2 separate regions of the Homo sapiens genome follow, and region 1 is linked to region 2. The links are contacts of gene promoters, found by promoter capture Hi-C in human tissues and cell types (Jung and others, 2019). All regions are on one chromosome and are shown on one strand. Each heading gives the region's core, a stretch centred on a gene start or on the middle of the fragment in contact. The rest is flanking DNA. Distances are from core to core; before and after follow the strand shown.

Region 1 (2,931 bases), core at 21-2,520, 290 kb after region 2:
AGCAGCCGTGCCATCATGCTAAGAGCAAAGCCTGTGAAATCAGGCACACATGAGGCCGCCTTCCCGCTTGCTTTCTATTAATACAAGCTTTGTGACATTGAGTAATACATACGAAGAACCAGTTTTCCCATTATTTGCTAAAAGCGGGATGATAGAACCTCCTCATAAAGGTGCGGTGAGGAATAAATGAGATAATGTCATAAAGCACTTAGCTCCTAGAGTGGCGGCTGCTGCTATGATATACAGAATGACCACCAGGTCTGGAAATGTATGTGAACACAGAATTCATGGCTGGTTGATAATTAAACAATATTGCCTGTGTCTCCGGACTTTACGACCCCCCTGTGTTGCCCCTGCCCTTGATGAGTTTTCAGTCTAGGCTACTGGTTCTCGAAGTGTGGGCCCCAGAGCAGCCACAGCAGCATAACCTGAGAATGTGTTGGAAGTGCAAATTCTAGACCCTCTGAATCCGAAACTCTAGGGGTAGGGCCCAGCCATCTGTGCTCCAACAAACCCTCCAGTGATTGTGATACACGCTCCAGTTGGAGAGTTACTAATCTAGTGGAAAATGACACAAGTATAAGCAAATAACTACCATACACGGACACATCCCTGAAGAAGTGACATCATGGGCAGGGCTTGAAGGAAGAACAAGTGTTCTCAGGTGGGCATGAGCCACATGAGGAGAGATTGGCACCTACAAAGCCCCGGAAGCATGAAAGGGAAGCGAATGTTGAGGGAACCACAAGTGATTTGGCAGGGCTAGAGGAGAGGGCTAAAGAGCCAGGTGGGGAGTGTGGGAGGTGAGGCTGGGAAGGGGGGCGGGAGCGAGACTATGATGCCCTTTACGTGCCCAGATAGGGAATTTAGATTTTATCCTGTAAGTGACGGGTAACATGCAAAGTTTTTAATGGAGAATAATATGACCAAATTTGAATTCTAGAAAGAAAGCACTCTTGCAGCATTATGGCCTGGAGGCAGGAAGATCAGTTGGAAAGCTTCTACAATAATGGAAGTGAGAGTCCATGTGGGCCTGAACTCAGGCCATGGCTATGGAGATATCGAGAAGTGGGTGGGTTGAGAGATATTTGGGAGGAGAATTGACAGGACCCATGGGGGAGGCATGAGAGCGGGAAAGGTTGAGGGTATCTCCGAGGGCTCTGCTTTGCTGGTATTTCTAGAAAAGATGGAACCGGCACAGAGAAGCAATGACTTCAAGTCTGGACACAATGAATTGAGGGAGCTCAGAAGAAAGCTCTGGGCTGGTAGCTGAAGCAGAAATCAATTATGCCTGTGTTGTTTGTCTCCCAATGTTTATCATGCATGCATTCATTTCAGGAAATACTGGATTGCTATCATGCACCAGAAAGGTTCTAGGAGGGAGTGAAAAACACAATAGCCAGAATCTGCTCCCAGGACTTACACAGCAGTGGGGGGACCAGAAATACATAACCAAACAGATACATAAACAAACGTGTTTCAGGTAGTGCCAGGTGCTGTGAAGAAAAGTAAGAGTAAGAGTGTGGAGGGGTGGGGGAATTCAGGCAGAGCAGTCAGGCATGGCCTCTCTGAGGAGGTGACATGGGCTAATCGAGAAGTCGGAACCAGGTGTGTGGAAATGGGAGGACAGTGCTCCCAGGCAGGGGGAACAGCAAGCGCCAAGGCTCTGAGGTGGGAATGGGTTTGACATGATGGTGGGAAGGAAAGATGGCAGCACAGCCAGCCAGTCATGGGACACGAGGTCAGAGAGGTGGACAGGTACGTTTCTAGGGACTGGTGAGATGCCGTAATACATGTGAAAGTGTTTAGTGAACAATCTCTAGAGCCATGTACCAAAAGGAATATGAAGATGGTATCTGCAAGAGGGAGAAAAGAAGAAACAATTCACAATTCTTAACTGAAGCAAGAAGCATTTGGGTCCAAACAGGAAAAATTCAGTCTATAACTGTCATGTGATATTAGAATAATTTCCAGAACAGATACTTTGAAAGGAAGACGAAGAAGGAGGAAGAGCAGGAAGAAGAGGAGAAAGAGGAGGAGGAGAAGGAGGAGGAACAAAAGAAAAAGAAAAAGAAGAAAAGAAAGAAAAGAAAAATTTGCTTTCGCTTTAAGAATATGGTTAACAGGCCCAGGCATGGTGGCTCACGCCTGTAATCCCAGCACTTTGGGAGGCCAAGGTGGATGGATCCCTGGAGGCCAGGTGTTCGAGACCAGCCTGGCCAACATGACAAAACCCCATCTTGACCAAAAATACAAAAATTAGCCAGGCATGGTGGTGGGCACCTGTAGTCCCAGCTACTCAGGAGGCAGAGGCACGAGAATCTCTTGAACCCCGGAGATGGAAATTGCAGTGAACTGAGATCGCACCACTGCACTCCAGCCTGGGTGACAGAGTGAGACCCTATCTTAAAAAAAAGAAAAAATAGGTTAGCGGCTAAGCTGATGTAGGTGGTAGATGGTGGCAGATCTAAGTGCTGGCAGATCTTGGCGGTGGGGGATTGGAAACGTAACCCCTCCTAGTACAGATGGATGAGGATTTCAAAGCAGAGAGGGACGGAAAGGGGATGAGACAAGGGTCCTCCCTGCCCTGGCTAGACTGGGGCTCCCTCTGGTGGTGCCATTGCCCCAGGAGGCTGGGCAGAGGCGCTTCACCATCCCTGCAGAATCTGAGGCCAGACCAGAAGGTGAGGCCCACAGGCCTGGGCACGCTGAGCCTCACCCTTGCGAATGAAACCAGATGGAGAGACCCAGGCCAAGGCAGAGAGAAGTGAGTTCAACTGGGTAGCTCATGCACCACCCCAGCCCAAAGAGCTCTGTCTTCTGCTTCCAAGATTAAGTCCAGGGCAACTTCCCAAGGCACACCTTTAGCCACGGCAGGAAATAAGGGCTCCCCAGCCCACAGAGGGGCCTGACCAACTCCTAGGAGGAAAA
Region 2 (3,051 bases), core at 510-3,009:
TCCCTGCCCTTGTGGAGCTTACAGTCCAGGGCGGAGACAGACAAATGAATGGTTACCATATTATTTACAAATGGGGTTTTTCCAGAGCCCACAGATGGGGCACCTGGCCCAGATATGGCCATCAAGAAAGGCTTCAGGGAAAGTTGATGTCTAGGCTGAGACCTAAAAGATGAATAAAAGGAGTTAGCCAGGCAAAGCAGTGGGCAAGGATGAGCCCTTAGAAGGCCTTCAGAGCCTTGCTGACCATCACCTTTGAACACATGCTGGCCACCCACACTGTGGGCATAGACTTATTAGTAGGTCCATGATTGTCACTCCTTTAATCTGCCCTACACCCACAGGTCCTTCCAAGACCCATTTCAGATGCCACCTCCCCCAAGAAGTTCCAGTCCCCATATCCCAGTGTCTTTGGTGGCCCTGTGCCCATTTGCCTGCCCTATCTTAGCCCTCTCCACTTCACTGCAATGGTATATTCACCCATTCCTTTACAAAATCAGAATCCAGAAAGGGCAGGACACCGTCTCATTTGTCTTCGTGTCCCCAGCACCCCGGTAAGCCAGGCATAGGTAGACTTTTTTTTTTTTTTTTTTTTGAGACAGAGTCTTACTCTGTCACCCAGGCTAGAGTGCAGTGGTGCGATCTCCACTCACTGCAACCTCTGCCTCCTGGGTTCAAGCAATTCTTCTGCCTCAGCCTCTTGAGTAGTTGGAATTACAGGCATGCACCACCACACCCGGCTAATTTTTGTATTTTTAGTAGAGAGGGGTTTTCACCATGTTGGCCAGGCTGGTCTCGAACTCCCAACCTCAGGTGATCTGCTGCCTTGGCCTCCCAAAGTGCTGGGATTACAGGCGTGAGCCACTGCGCCCGGTCATATGTAGACATTTGATAAATACGTTGAATGAAAGGAAACCAACTCTCCATTCTCCCCCACCCTCCCATATAATGGGACAGGAGAAAATAAGATTTATTTGAGAGGCTGCAAATGACAGGATTAGGGAGTGGTTGGAGATATCAGGAATCCGTCTAGCTACAGGTGAGATCAGGTTTTGTTTTTTTTGAGACGGAGTCTCGCCCTGTCGCCCAGGCAGGAGTGAGTGCAATGGCGCGATCTCGGCCCACTGCAACCTCCCACTCCCGGGTTCAAGCGATTCTCCTGCCTCAGCCTCCCGAGTAGGGGGTTACAGGCGCGCCACCACGCCCGGCTAATTTTTTGTATTTTTAGTAGAGACGGGGTTTCACCGTGTTAGCCAGGATTGTCTCCATCTCCTGACCTCGTGATCCGCCCCCGTCGGCCTCCCAAAGTGCTGGGATTACAGGCGTGAGCCACCGCGCCCGGCAGAGATCAGGTTCTTAAGGGAAGTCCGGAGAAATGGGGTTTTTAAAAAACCCGAGTCCAGGCTATCTGTTTGGAGGGGTTGGGAGGCTTGGAGCTGGACCAATAACTTCTTAGGTCTTGCTTTAAGGAGTGAAGATTCTCTGTAGCGACCCTCATACCTGGGCAGTGGGAGCGGGCAGAATCCTTCTTTCTTCTCTTCTCTACACCCCCTCACTCCACCCCCACCCTTCCCCGCCGCCCGTAAACCTTAGCTTTCCCCTTTCCAACAGAGGTTTCCAGCTGTTGATGCCTGGATGGACCCGGCTGCAGGGAGGAGGAGGAAACTCTCTGTCCCTCCCTTCTTCTGCAAGTCCCCACCCTCCCTCCCTCCTCCCCCTGCGCGCTCTCGGTCTCCCTCCCTCTTTCTCCTCTAGGCTGTCCAGTCGCCTCGCAGCAGCGAGCCGCGAGCGCCCTTCTCCAGTCCCGGCTTGGAACTGAACTGTGTGAGCACGGGTCCTGGAACCCGGGCCCAGAACCGGCGAGCCCAGGTCTGAGCCCAGAGCTCAGCGGTCAGCCTCGTAGGCCCTGACTCGGAATCGAGCCGAGGCGCTGAGGTTGGAGCCGGAGAGCGTGAGAGCCGAAGAGCAGGGAGGGCGGGCCGGCTGCGCGTCCGACGAGTCGCAGAGCAGGACCGCGGAAGGCAGGGAGACGGCCGCAAGCCCAGGGCAGAGGGCAGAGGGCAGAGAGCGGCCTGGCTCGGCGGAGAGGGCGCCGCCCGGCCGGAACCAAGCTCGCCGCCCGGGACGGCGGGCCCCGTGGGGCGCGGACCCAGGGTGGCCGTGGGTCCGCAGCGACTCCCCGGCCGACGGCGGGGGGCGTGCCCCCTCCCAGCCCAGCCTCCCCAACCCGGCCCGCCCGCCGCGTCGCGGGGGCATGTGAGCGGGAAGCCTAGGCTGCCAGCCGCGAGGACCGCACGGAGGAGGAGCAGGAGCGCGGAGCCGCGAGCCCCGAGCCCCGAGCCCGGCGCCTGGCTGAGTAGTAAGTGCACCCCTCCCCGCCATGATCGCGCCGTCGCGCCCATTTCCCCAGCTCTCTGAAGTTTGACACTTGCGCCCCTACGTTTCTGGGCACCCACCGGCTCTCTTCCCTGCGAGTTTCCACCCTGTGCAAAGTTTTTCGAGGAGAGACGGACCCTCACCTACCCCCAACAACGCTGGGCAGTGGCGGCTCCTCCCTGGCCGACTTGGGTCCTTGTGGAGAGGGATGGCAGCCTCTAAGGCAGTGCGTGGCTGTGTGTGTGTTTGTGTGTGTGTGTGTGTGTGTGTGTACGCGCGCGCGCGCGCGCGTTCACCACGCGGGTCGAGCTTAGGGTGCACCCCCAACCCGCTCCTCGCCGACCGCAGAGGACTAGGTCTTTCTCATCAGCCCGACTATGCGCCTAGTTTAAGGATTTCTCAGCGGGAAGCCGAAGCGACCTGCGCGCGTCCTGCGTGGGGCTCAGGTGCCTGCGACGAGGCGCAGAGCTCCTCCACCATGGTTGCGTGGGGTGCTGGGGGACAGACGCGCTCCCCTTGCCACGGTTTCAGGGTCGTTCCCCAGCGGACCAGACCAGCGCGGCATCCTGTTTGTTTTCTGCTCCGGCTGCTCCTGTCCCACCCCCACCCCCACCGCAGGCTGCTTCTTGCTACCCCCACCTCCCGCCCTGGGATATCGTAGGTGAGCCTTTTCATCCC

The links. Contacts are between HindIII fragments. The study calls those that stand out against the background at their distance.
Region 1: a contact is called between a fragment that was not itself captured here and the fragment with the promoter of SOX13 in region 2, in 2 of the 25 tissues and cell types used here (heart right ventricle and liver).

Annotation. Positions count from the first base shown.
Region 1 is chr1:204,364,353-204,367,283 of GRCh38, forward strand. It overlaps a transcript of PLEKHA6 not described here. Among named protein-coding and RNA genes, the nearest start is that of LINC00628, 3.9 kb to the right of the region's middle. The HindIII fragment of the contact is 5,440 bases long and covers 1-2,931 here.
Region 2 is chr1:204,071,356-204,074,406 of GRCh38, forward strand. It overlaps SOX13 (SRY-box transcription factor 13), which reads left to right and starts at 1,760. Exons shown (of 14, transcript NM_005686.3): 1 at 1,760-2,356. RefSeq lists an enhancer at 2,439-3,051. The HindIII fragment of the contact is 26,498 bases long and covers 1-3,051 here.